Linked DNA regions of Homo sapiens: region 2 is linked to region 1. The links are contacts of gene promoters, found by promoter capture Hi-C in human tissues and cell types (Jung and others, 2019). All regions are on one chromosome and are shown on one strand. The core of a region is centred on a gene start or on the middle of the fragment in contact, and the rest is flanking DNA. Distances in the headings are between cores, read along the strand shown. Region 1 holds the start of LPAR1 (lysophosphatidic acid receptor 1). Region 2 overlaps MUSK (muscle associated receptor tyrosine kinase).

The links. The method cuts DNA at HindIII sites, captures the fragments that hold promoters and counts their contacts. A contact is called where the count stands out against the background at its distance.
Region 2: a contact is called between a fragment that was not itself captured here and the fragment with the promoter of LPAR1 in region 1, in 3 of the 25 tissues and cell types used here (dorsolateral prefrontal cortex, hippocampus and mesenchymal stem cells).

The regions. Positions count from the first base shown.
Region 1 is chr9:111,036,287-111,042,106 of GRCh38, reverse strand. LPAR1 (lysophosphatidic acid receptor 1) reads left to right here and starts at 3,637. Exons shown (of 6, transcript NM_001351411.2): 1 at 3,637-3,940. It overlaps LOC124902248 (a long non-coding RNA gene), which reads right to left and starts at 5,179. Exons shown (of 2, transcript XR_007061732.1): 1 at 4,318-5,179; 2 at 1-2,652. RefSeq lists a silencer at 3,868-4,207. The HindIII fragment of the contact is 11,259 bases long and covers 1-5,820 here.
Region 2 is chr9:110,774,584-110,780,403 of GRCh38, reverse strand. MUSK (muscle associated receptor tyrosine kinase) reads right to left here. Exons shown (of 15, transcript NM_005592.4): 10 at 4,441-4,616; 11 at 3,749-3,772. All of the region lies in intron 2 of LOC107987115 (a long non-coding RNA gene), which reads left to right. Among named protein-coding and RNA genes, the nearest start is that of MUSK, 110 kb to the right of the region's middle. The HindIII fragment of the contact is 3,206 bases long and covers 1,222-4,427 here.

The DNA of each region.
Region 1 (5,820 bases), core at 2,388-4,887:
GGAAAGTTTCCAACAGATCGTTTTGCTGATAGTTTTGATTACTCTCGAACAGAAAATTTCAAAAGCTTTTTGCCAGAGGGAAGCGAACAGAGGGAGGAAGAGAGAACTCTTCCATGAGTGTGCCATGACTGGGGAACCTTTTGAACAAATAATAGTGCCAAAGGCAGTGACAGCCAATTTTTCCACCCGAAATGCTTCTCAAATTATAGTCCTTGGATCACTAGCTTATATCAATAGTCTGACAAAGTCTATGGTGTCCTTCCAGATATTAATGTAAAACCTGAACTTGAAATATCCATCACAATGTTTCATTTTGCTGAACTTTTTCTGAGACACAGTCTTGTTCTGTTGCCCAGGCTGGAGTGCAGTGGTGCAATCTTGGCTCACTGCAACCTCTCTCTCCCAAGTTCAAGAGATTCTTATGCCTCAGCCTCCCAACAGCTGGGACTACAGGCATGCACCACCATGCCGGCTAATTTTTATATTTTTAGTAGAGACAGGGTTTTAGTAGAGACAGACATGTTGGCCAGGCTGGTCTCAAACTCTTGGCCTCAAGCGATCTGCCCACCTTGGCCTCCCAAGGTGCTGGGATTACAGGTGTGAGCCACCATGCCTGGCTTCATTTTGCTGAACATACATATATATTTAAAAATTTTAAAACTTTTTAAGAGACAGGGCCTGGCTGTTGCCCAGGCTGGAGTGCAGTGGCACAATGGCAGCTCACTGCAGCTTCGAACTCCTGGGCTCAAGCGCTCCTCTCGCCTCAGCCTCCCAAAATGCTGGGATTACAAGCATGAGCCACTGTGGCTAAGAATATTTTTTGTCATGTTTGACAGCGCCAGCTGTCTTTGGGTCTTTACCTCTGCTGAAGTCATTTGAAGAAACAAATCTAAAGAAATACTGCTTGGCAGAGGGGAGGAGAGAAAGGTTAGGACAGAAAGCATCAGGATGACTCTCCAAGAAAGGGAATGTCTGAATGACAAGAGGACTACAGACAGGAGAAAACATTCAAGAAAATTTATCAAGGTATTCTTTGTTCCTGTTGAAACCTCATCATCAATGTTAGTGTCTTCAGAAGCCCACCCAAATATATTATTTTACTTTGATAAAAGACAACTTGGAACCATATAAAAGACTGCACTGGTACCATTATTCCATTTTACAGATGAGAAAAGTAGCTCATTTGGAACATAATGAGCTAGGTTTTATGGATTAATCTAGATGCTGAACTGAATTCTGTATTGTATTTCATTTTCTCTGTCCTTTTCTACTGGATGTACATACCTACATTTAATTTTAGAGTTATCGATCTAAAGCTGGCTGCAGAAGCTGTCTCATTTAGACAGGTCCACGCTTGTCAGGAAGACAGGTCTGTCCAGGCAGACCTTTCAGTTTGTTCTATATTTCATTTCAGGCCACAGCAGACCAAATAAAGAGGAAATGAAGTGTTTTATAGCAAATAACTTACTGTTGAATACACATGTCTTGTACGGACAGGCCTCCCAATTTGATGTTAGAAGGGGCCACAGAGTAGTTAAGATAGTCAAAACAGAAGCAACTGTATTCCTTAAGAAGGTAAGAGACAAAATCAACATATTAAAAATATTCAAGTTGAGTGGTAGGTAAGAAACTCCTTTTACTTTACCTTTGATTTATGGGGAAAGGCTAAACATGGAAATAATTAATTTTAAAATGTCTTTATATTAGATATAGAAGTATTGGTGTTAAGAAATCTGATAGTAAGTACAGTGTATAGGAAGAAAGAGACGGGAAAATTAGCTAATAAGTGATTTTTTGACTTGAGTAGAGCTATGGTTAAAAATATATGGAAACCTCTTTCGAGTATATTTTTTTCTTACCAATATATACTTTTTATGATACTGAGATTTTATAGTGAACATTTGCCTATTCATCCCAATATAATATTTCTTATAGTTTGGTATCAACCCCTATGATTATTTGTGAGATAAGGGAGTGGTTTGTATTCATGGGTATACATATCTATACACATTTCTGCATGCCGTACACAAACATAAGTAGCATTGTGCATGAACATATTAGCACTGTGCATGTACTAAAATTTCAATTTTTTCACATAGTAGGTTATAAAATAAATCATATATTCGTAGGAAAGGTATAGAAAGCAAAGTTATTTAAAGTGGATTTTTAAAAAAGATTTGAATGATTTTTTTTAAAAAAAAGATTAGAACCATTGTTTTTAAAAGGAAACAGCTTTAGATAGTAAATTATTTACAGCCAGGACTCAGCCCTGAGCATCCTGTGAAAACCACACGAGCTTGGTCAAGGTTCTAAGCAGTCACCGGTGGGAGATGGTCATGGTCCCGTCACAGCATAACTCACTTGAGGCTTGAAAAGTTTCCGTCCAGCTACGGTTTGCAGTGACCTTTCTCTTCTGCAAAGCCCACGGTTACCTGGTGGCCACCACCAACATAGCCCCGCCTCGCTGTCCTGCGTTTCTCTCAATCAGATCAGTCCTGCCGAGTCCCCATGCCTTACTGCTGGTGTGCTGTGTCCTCTGTGCCATTTCAAGGCGAGGGCTCATGAAACTTTTACTCACACGCTGCTATTTTTGATATGCGGTGGCCTTAGCTGTGGAGCGAGAGGCCGATAATTGTGATCACTCCGGAAATCCTGGGAAGCCAGAAGTGGGAGATGGGTGTTGTGAGGTGGCGTGGCTAGGGAGACCCCATCGAGTGGGTGTGTTATAAGACCTGGGCGAATCCCTGTGGCTGCCACTCTCCTGAGAATGTTCCCTAGGCCTTAGTCCCGCGCCGCTCCCACCCACACCTCCAGGTGTGCAGTCCCCGCCCTTAATTACTCTCACTAAAATTGATAGTTTACACTTGCAAAGCTACACTGGGAAAGCGGAAGAGAAATTTATAATCGTGGATATGGAGAACTAGGGGAGCAGACACACTTGCTTTCGTTTACAGATCCAGTGAAGTGAAAAATCAGAACTAGAAACGTATGCACCTTCCTAGCAGCAAAGCCGCTTCTGCGTTCTTCGCAGCCTCCAGTGCAGGGCGGCGCTGGGAGAAACTTTGCGCCTTCTGGAAAGTTTAGAAAGTGAGCCACGAAAGAGAGGCCACATTTCCGGGGTTTTGCGGGCCCCGCGATGTTTTCCAGAGCTTTTCGAGTGGGAAGAGGAGAGCGACAACGTGAAAATGCCCCGTGCCGGGGCGTCCACCGGAGTCCTGCCAGCTGTCCGGCGCTGGGGTAAGCGCAGGAGGGGCGGGGGTGGGACCCGAGCTGGCGGCCACGGGTCTCCCGCTGCGGGTGTGTCGACTCGGGGGCGGGGCGGGGGAGGCTGCTGAGATAATGAATGGGAGGCTAAGGCCACCCCCCAGCCCCGGCCCTGCCACCACCGTGGGCTGTCGAGCCAATGAATGGAGGAGGGGGCGCAGAGGTCAGGGGCGCTGGGGGCGCCACACCAGGTAAGGGGTCCAGCTTGGGAGCGGGGAGGGCGGACTCTGGGGGTTCGGGTGTTGCTGACTTGTGCTACGTGGAACAAGCAGAAAAGAAGGAAGGCGGAGGAAGAGAGGAGGCTGGCGTCGGCGCTGCTCCTCTGGCCCTCCCTCTGCGCCCCCTCCTCCTGCCAGCGCGCCAAAGCCGGGCAGTAGGGGCCGACTGGCGGCTGACGCTCCCTGAGTGGCGACTCCGTCTCCAGCCCCGCTGCGGAGCGCGGGCCGGATCTGGGGCGGCCAGGGCCCGGAGCCGCGGAGCCCTCCCCGCCGCCCGGCCGAGCACGGGACCCCGGCGGGGTGGGCGCAGGGGGCGGCCCCGCTCTGGGCGACTGCCGAGGGGCGGGCGGAGGGCCGGGCTCGGCTGGCGGTGGGGCGGGGGCCGCCGGGACTGGGCGCGCGGCCTGAAGCCAGCCCGGGGGCGGCAGGAGAGGGACGCGCGGCGGCAGCGAGCGCAGGTAAGGGGGCCGGCGCGGCGTGTGGGGACGGCGCCCCCTGGGCGCGAAGCCAGAGGCCGCGGCGACTGCTCGGCCCGCCACACGGCGCGCTGGGCTCACACTGTCCCGCCGCGGACGGGCTTTGTGGTTGGGGGCGCGCGTGCGAGTGCCAGTGAGAGTGTGGGTGCGCGCTGTGGGCCGCGGCGCGGGTGGGTGGCCGTGCGTTCTTGCGAGCCGGCCTGCAGGAGGCGAGGCTCCCCTGGCCTCCCGCACCCAGCGGCGGACCGAGCCCCTGGAGGGAAGTTGCCGCAGCCGCCCGGGCCGCCGGCCCTCCTGTCCCGCGCCAGGTCAGTGCGCCCCGGGGCCCGCCCAGTGACACGTAGGTGGCCTCCGGTTACCTGGGTCGGGGTGGGTGCGCGGGAGGGCTTGCGAGGGGCCCTCGAAATTCTCCCAAAACCTCGTCCCGCTGGACTTGCACCTCCGAGGGGTCCCTGCGCCCCTGGGGCTCCGCACCTCTCGCTTCCCACTGACGACTCGGTTGTCCCCCACCACCGGGCTGAGGACTTTTAACTAAGTTTCTGTCCAGCCGCCTAACAAACGTGCTTAACAAGTAACAGGAGGTTGTAAGGCAAGGGAGGGACCTGGCTTTGAAAGTTGATGGTTTTGAAATCGACGGCTCCTTTGACTTGCGTAGGACTCCTTTGTGGTGAATGGATTTAAAGTTTATTCTTGTTTTTCTTTGCTGCCATTTGGTCTTTGCAATGTTAAGAGTGAAGGCATTCAGGACTTGCTGCTGCCTGCTGTCTGGGGCCTGAGGTTGTGGCTCTCCGCTTCTGCTCTCCTCTCTTCATTTTTGTTGAAATCCGTGGATTTTTTCATAAATGTGGGTGCTGGCTTGTTTCACTATGGACGCGTCGTTTCCTATGGGGTTAGATAGATATTGGTAAACATAAATATTGAAAATGTGATGATCACATATTGATGATCACAGCGAAATCCTCTATTCCTTCAGGCTCTAACAGTTTGTTTTTCACGTATTTGCATAAGTGTGTTTGCTCAGCTAAGCATAATTGGTAAGCCAGAGGTCTGTGATTCAGAGTCTGCAGTTCTGGTTAAGGGGAGACTGTACACTTGGAAAATGCGAAGTTTTTTAAGAAGTTATTCCCTTGCCGGATAGAAGAGTGGGTCCCAAGGAAAAAGGGTGTATTTTAGAGGTATGGTTATTTGAACCAAACTAAACATCATTAAAATACACAGGGAGGTAGAATGTCACCTAGTTCTTTCTGCCCTTGATTTCCATATCCCAGTAGGAGCGAGTATAATTGCCCCAAATGCAAAATTATGAATAATAATCAGCATTGTAAGTATATTAAGGTTGCATTTTTTTCTTGATACTTGTCTGATTTGAGGATAAAAACACCAAGTGGCAAGAGAAGGAGGTAGCTTGAGGCAGGAAGGCACGGGCGAGGAGCGAGGAGGGAAGGCTGGGTTGTCATCATCCGAGCCCGCAAGGTACACCACGTCCCCTAGCGGCGCGACCTCAGCCAGTCGGGTCAGCTCAGATCCTGGTCTCCGTCTCCCCATCCGGAAAATGGAAGGGGTTGGTGATCGTTGCTGTTCCTTCCAGCTTCCCAAATAGCGAGAAACCGGTGGGAGGTTATCTTATTGTGTTAGAGCAGTAGGAAAAGGTAGGAGGGGGAAGTGAGAGGTCCAGAGGGCCAGGAAGATGGAAGAAAACAAGCAACAGAGGATGCTTGGAGGAGAAAAATTCTTGAGCTGGGAGCTCATTTCCTCTTTTTTTTTTTTTTTTCCTTTCCTCAAGGGACTCAATAATACTTCCCCCACCTCAGATCAATCTCTTGTTACCTTTATTATTTAAAGCTTGTGAGTTTGCTTAGCTA
Region 2 (5,820 bases), core at 1,575-4,074, 260 kb after region 1:
CACTCTGCAAAGAGAAACCTAAGAGTACCAGGGGAGGTAAGGAAGAAGATCCAAGCAGTCTGAGGATCTCCTGGAGATTCTGAAAGTCCCATGGGGTGGGCAGAAATGAAGAATAAATAGAGCACTGCGATGTGTAGAAAGAATTGGTGTCTGACTTTCACTTAGCAGTGGAGAAAACATAACCAGTAACAAGTAAAGAAAAAGAAAAAGAAGAAGCAAAAACGTAAAGCGAATAGAAAATATACAGTTAAGATAGTAGGGATAAAATAGAGTATATCAGTTGTGATATAAAATATGAACAGGCTAAATCCTCCTATTAATAGAAAATGGCTATCTGATTGGAGTAAACCCAGGTATATGTTGTTTATAAGAAAAGAAAAATAAAAGAGGAACAAAGAGGTGCTAGGTTAACATAAATACAAGGAAAAAATTACCATTATTAATACTAGAAATTTAAAGCTAAAAGCACTAAAACAAGACAAGAGTGACATTTTACATTGGTAAAGAGCTTCATATAAAAAGAAAAGTGTCTTGGATCACTATGCCTCATAGAACATAGTAACTAAACATGTAAAGTACAAATTATTATAAATGCTAGAAGAATGTAATAAAAATAATTATGAATTGGATTGGTCTAGTAGAAAATTTATTAGAAAATCAAGGAAATCAGTAAACCCATATGTGTATAGAAGGGCTATTAATGTCATGAAATTATTAGACAGCTAGCATGAGTTTAATCTATACTCATAAAAGAACAAGGCCTTATCACAGAAAATATGGTTGCATTGCAATTCTGATCAGATCATGTTCTGTGCTTTGTGTTCAGTTCTGGATATTCTCAAGCTTGTGGCAGCCAGTAAAAAGTAAACATGGAGGTGAGGATTTTGGAAGTCAGTTGCAAAAGAAAAAGTTAAAAATTGGAGATATTTAATGTGAAGAAGAGAAGACTACAGAGAGATTGAGTGCCTGTCTCCAAATATTTTAAGGACTATCATACAGATTATAAATAAATCAAAGAAATAGAGTGAAGATCAGTTGTTGACAGTTCTAGAGAACCAGAATTTAGTTCTACATAGCTAAATTGTTGAAATAATTAATGTATTCTACAAAGGAATTGAGAAATAAATTCAGGAGGGAAAATGGAATGTTTCTGTCAGAGATGCTCTAGAAAAGATTCTTTCATTGTGGGAGACTTTAGATTAAATAACTGTTAAAGTTACTTTAAACTCCAATTTTCTAAGAACTTGTAACTTTAATATTACCACAAAAATTACCCAAACCACATTTCAAATTATGAAATAATTCATGAGTTTTACACAGACACACACACACACACACACACACAGAGACACTGACGCTTCATGATTTCATTCGTGGGCAAAATAGTAGCTGATCATTATGGAAAAATGGTCTGGGACACAAAGCATGTATTCATTTAAATGTTAACAAAAAGTCAAATCATCAAGTGGCCTGGGTGATTTAAAATTGTGAACAATAAAATTTTTATCAATTAGAGCTTCTTAAGAATAATCAATTATAACAAATGTGAAAAGGTAGTGGAATTTATTCAAGAATGAATCAGTTAAACAATCAGTTAAGCTTTATTACACATGAGGTCTTGGAATTTTTTAAGAAACATTAGTAATAACAGAAATGCATCAGGTATAACATTCTGGCTCTGAAGACAGAGCCAGAATCAGATAGATTTCAGTTCAAATTCTGGCTTATCACCTTACTAGATGGGTAAAATTGGACACATTGCTTAATCTCTCTTTCTCATGTTGGGTTGTAAGTAAAATGGAGGACGTTCATAGTACTTAATTTTGTAGAACTATTGGGAGTATTAAGAGAGATAATGTATGTATCACACTAGTCAGTTTGGATTTGGGTACATTCATTGGGTCCTTTATTCTCCATGTATATGTATAGAAAGAGCAAAGATGGAAGGAAAAAGAGAATTCAAGAGAAAAGTAATTATTTCAATGATTAAGACAAATTAACCTTTTCTCCACAGAAGCTCTGAAATAGAAGACAGATTCACTGCTGAGTGTTTCTGTAATAAAGTATGTGAAGTCTCACGGAAGAGAGGAATAGTGTAATCCTTGCTTACAAATAATGTAAATAGCACAAAGGCATTGCCTGCTCAAAAAGATGTTTCACTTCAGCCAAAGAAATTATAAAAAAGAAAAACTACTGAAATTCTAGTCCCTATGCTCAAGGAAGAAGAAAATAATGCAAAGATAAACAAATGATTAACAGCTCTTTTGTGACCCCTCCAAATGAGCTGGTGATATTCTTTAGAGTTTACTCAGAAATCAAGACACTCTTTGGAAAATACTTAAGGTCTTTACACACCCCTATAAAATATGGGACACTGCCTAATAAGGATGTTTTCTTTGCTCCACTATTGACCTGCTAAAGCCAACTCTTTTAATAATAATTGCCTTAACTCAAGGAGCATACTTTCAGATATTCCCTGCCCTACTTTCAGTTTAAATGGTTAGTTCATGACATTAGGAGCTCATTTTCTTACATGTATCGAAGATTTCATAAAGCTGTTTTTTAAAGACTAGAAAATTTATTATTGTAGCTAGTTTGTGCTGCTCAAAATTCCTTTATAATTAGTGTGAAAGGCAGAAATGTGGATGCTTTTTTGTGTATTGTTCCTGTCTAATTTAAGATGAATGGTCTGGTCCTTCCACACAGCAAACCCTCAATGAATGTTTGAATGGATGAGTGAGCAATCGATGGATAACAAAGAGCACAGTAATCAATTCAAAGTCCAATCAAAGTAAACTTTGGCTGCTCATATAACAAAGAATTGAAATTTTTTTTTATTCCTTCGATTTGGGAATAACAATTTGACAGGCTACCAGAATAATAGATTTTTAAGGTTTCCATAACTCTTCTTGTTTAATACCTCTGAGTAATTCAACTAGGACCAGTAGCATTCTTGCTTTTAATACTTTTAAGTGTTGGTCCTTTAAGCAAGCTGGTAAAATCAAGTCCTGGCACCTAGTCAAATGCAGAGGAGATTAGGGCTGGAATATGTATTACAGGAAGTAAGTGTGATTTAAGCCTTAGAACGCTGAGACCAGAGGAAGTTAGTTGACATGAAAAGCTTTTCTAATTTCATCCTGAGGATTTCTGCATTCTGACAGGTTAAAGCACTATCTGATACAAGTTATTTTGTACGACATCCCTTTTCAAGCAACCTTCTTGAATTCTTTCCCAGAGATTTTTGTGATGACCTTTTTAAAGCCATTTGATTTGATCCTATAAACTTTATACTGGAAATCAGCTGTCTTAAAAAAATACCTAACTTCCAAAAGAGGGATCTATTGTCACAAATGAAGATCATGAATTGGCTCAATGAAGAAATAAATGTTGGGTTTCATCTATACATAATTAGATTATACTGAATCAAGAATATAAAATCAAAAGGTGACATTTTAAATTTGGCTTACTTATAGCCATATAAGAAATAAAACAGACTAAAAACCTTGAGGTGGGAGATAGCATTTGTATGACTCACTAAATATGGTACTCTCTACGGTCTAATTAAAAGTTATAAACTGAGACCTTCCATGATTTTCCCTCATGTTATACCCTGGATGAGTATGGTGAGAAGACTTTGAGAGCGGCTGTACATTCTGTTCTGGGCATCAGGAAATATAAGTGTAAACACACATGCATGAATCCAATTACATACACATAAGGTTTCAAGGGCACAAACACAATTACTTACTTTTTAGGTTTTCTTTGTTATAATCTGAAGGGGAAAGGATAAAAATTTGTTTTAAGTGAGCATCCAGATATCTCACATATTCTGTGAGAGAGTGAGTGCTAAGAAATGCAAGTTCTCTCTCAGCTTTTTAATATACAACTGGAAAACATTCTTTGCATTCGAATGTGAAAGAATTGGGTCTTTGAAATTAAACCAGCTGTTAGGGATAACAACATAGTTCCTTACAAACAAAGTTCATTAAAGCAACATGAAGCAATTCAATTTTGTTTTGTGAGATCAGCATTTTCAAACATGTGTCTTATTTTAGCATGCTTTCTTGGCTAAGAAAAAGGACTTTATTCCTTTATTCCACTCTGCTGACAAAATATAAGATGTTTCTTAGCCATTTTTCTACACACTCCAGAAAATGTTACAAGCTCTCATAAGATTCCCTATGAAAGAATCTAAAATGTCAAGCAGTAATTAAAAGTGCTGTTTCATTTATTTTAGAGCAAATGAAATAAATCTTTACGCTAATCTGTACAATTAGGATAGCATTAGGATTCCGCTAGTAGGTATCTAAGGAAGGCAGAACTCAAAAAAAAAAAATTAGAAATGCCTAGAAATATTAGAAGCTTTAAGTTCACACCTTAGTTTCTTCAAAATAGTAAATTTCTCTTAACCTCCAAAGTCTTGGGAGAACTCTGTGTTACCTAGATGTGGCAGTCTGGCACAGGCCGTGGGGTCCCAATGCATGCTGGGAAGCTTGCTGCATTCTGGCACGGACAGCAAATGCATCTCGGATCTGTAGAGTCCTCTGTGGGTCTTCTCTTCCATTACCAGCCATTCTTTTGCGCAGAAGAGCTCCTTTACTGCCAAGCAGTACTCTCTAAAATAGTATATGGAGAACAAAACTTGATGAATCATTACATGTTAAAGCAAATTTGTGGCAGAGCCTAAATTCTGTGTTTTCAAGACATCATCATGGTAAATTGTTCTTGAAAAAAGCGCGTTTATGAAAGAAACTTTTTACTGTAAATAATATGAGACCTCATGAAATCTAGTGTACTGTCCCGTGAGATGAAATGCTATCTCGTTTTGTTGTGAAACACAATTAATGCTAGTCTAAGGGAAAAAAACGTCAAATTTAAAACGTATTAGATTGGGAATCTCTGATATGTCTTCTCCCAACTTCATATTCAAATAACAACACAGGTAGAGGAAAAAGGTATACAGAGTTTAAAAAACACACCTACTGAAAGTCAGGATCATTGTCAACCAGTTTCCAGCTTGGAAGATTTTTCTATGATCTTGGGGCTAATGGGTAGGGCTCGAGGAACACAGTCTGGGCCTCTGTGTGCTTTGTCCTCTGAAACAGAACACCACCACCTCCCTGGCAGCTTATAGGAGGGCATCTGGGTCCTTACTCAGCCCTTACTTTGAGGCACGGAATCCTGTCCCATTGCTCTGCGTGCTTCCATCTGAGAAAGCCAAAGTATTATCTGTTTGAATATGAAGCTGTTATGTTCATCTACATGTTGTATTATGAGTGAAGGGGCTGAAGAAACACTAATTGGACTACTTGGAATTTTGCAGATTAGTATTTGTTTAAGCCTGATAGAAAATAGGACAAACTGCATAGGAAAAACCTGGTTAATTTCAAATTAAGGTATTTGGGGTTAATAATAAGAGGAAATTAAAGATAATTAAATAAATTAAACATAATAATAGCAGATGTCCTTTATTCAGTATCTGAAGGATTCAGAGAGGAGGAAATTGTAAGAGTGTGTGTGTGTGTGTGTGTGTGTGTATATATATGCCACAATGGTGTCTTTTTTCATACTTATTCCCACACTCCTACTTTCCTAACTTGCCAATATGTGCTAATTGAGTATGCATAGAATAAAAGGCTGTGCATATGAATGTGATGAGATGCAAATATATTCTTATATGAAGAAAACAATGGGATTTATAATTCTTGGTGTGCGTAAGGGAGAAGGGAGTATAATGGGGCTTTCAAGACTTCTGAGCAGGTAAAGGACCTGAGGAGAGTTGCTTAGCTTGGTTCCACCCCTGGGTTGTATAAGCACATT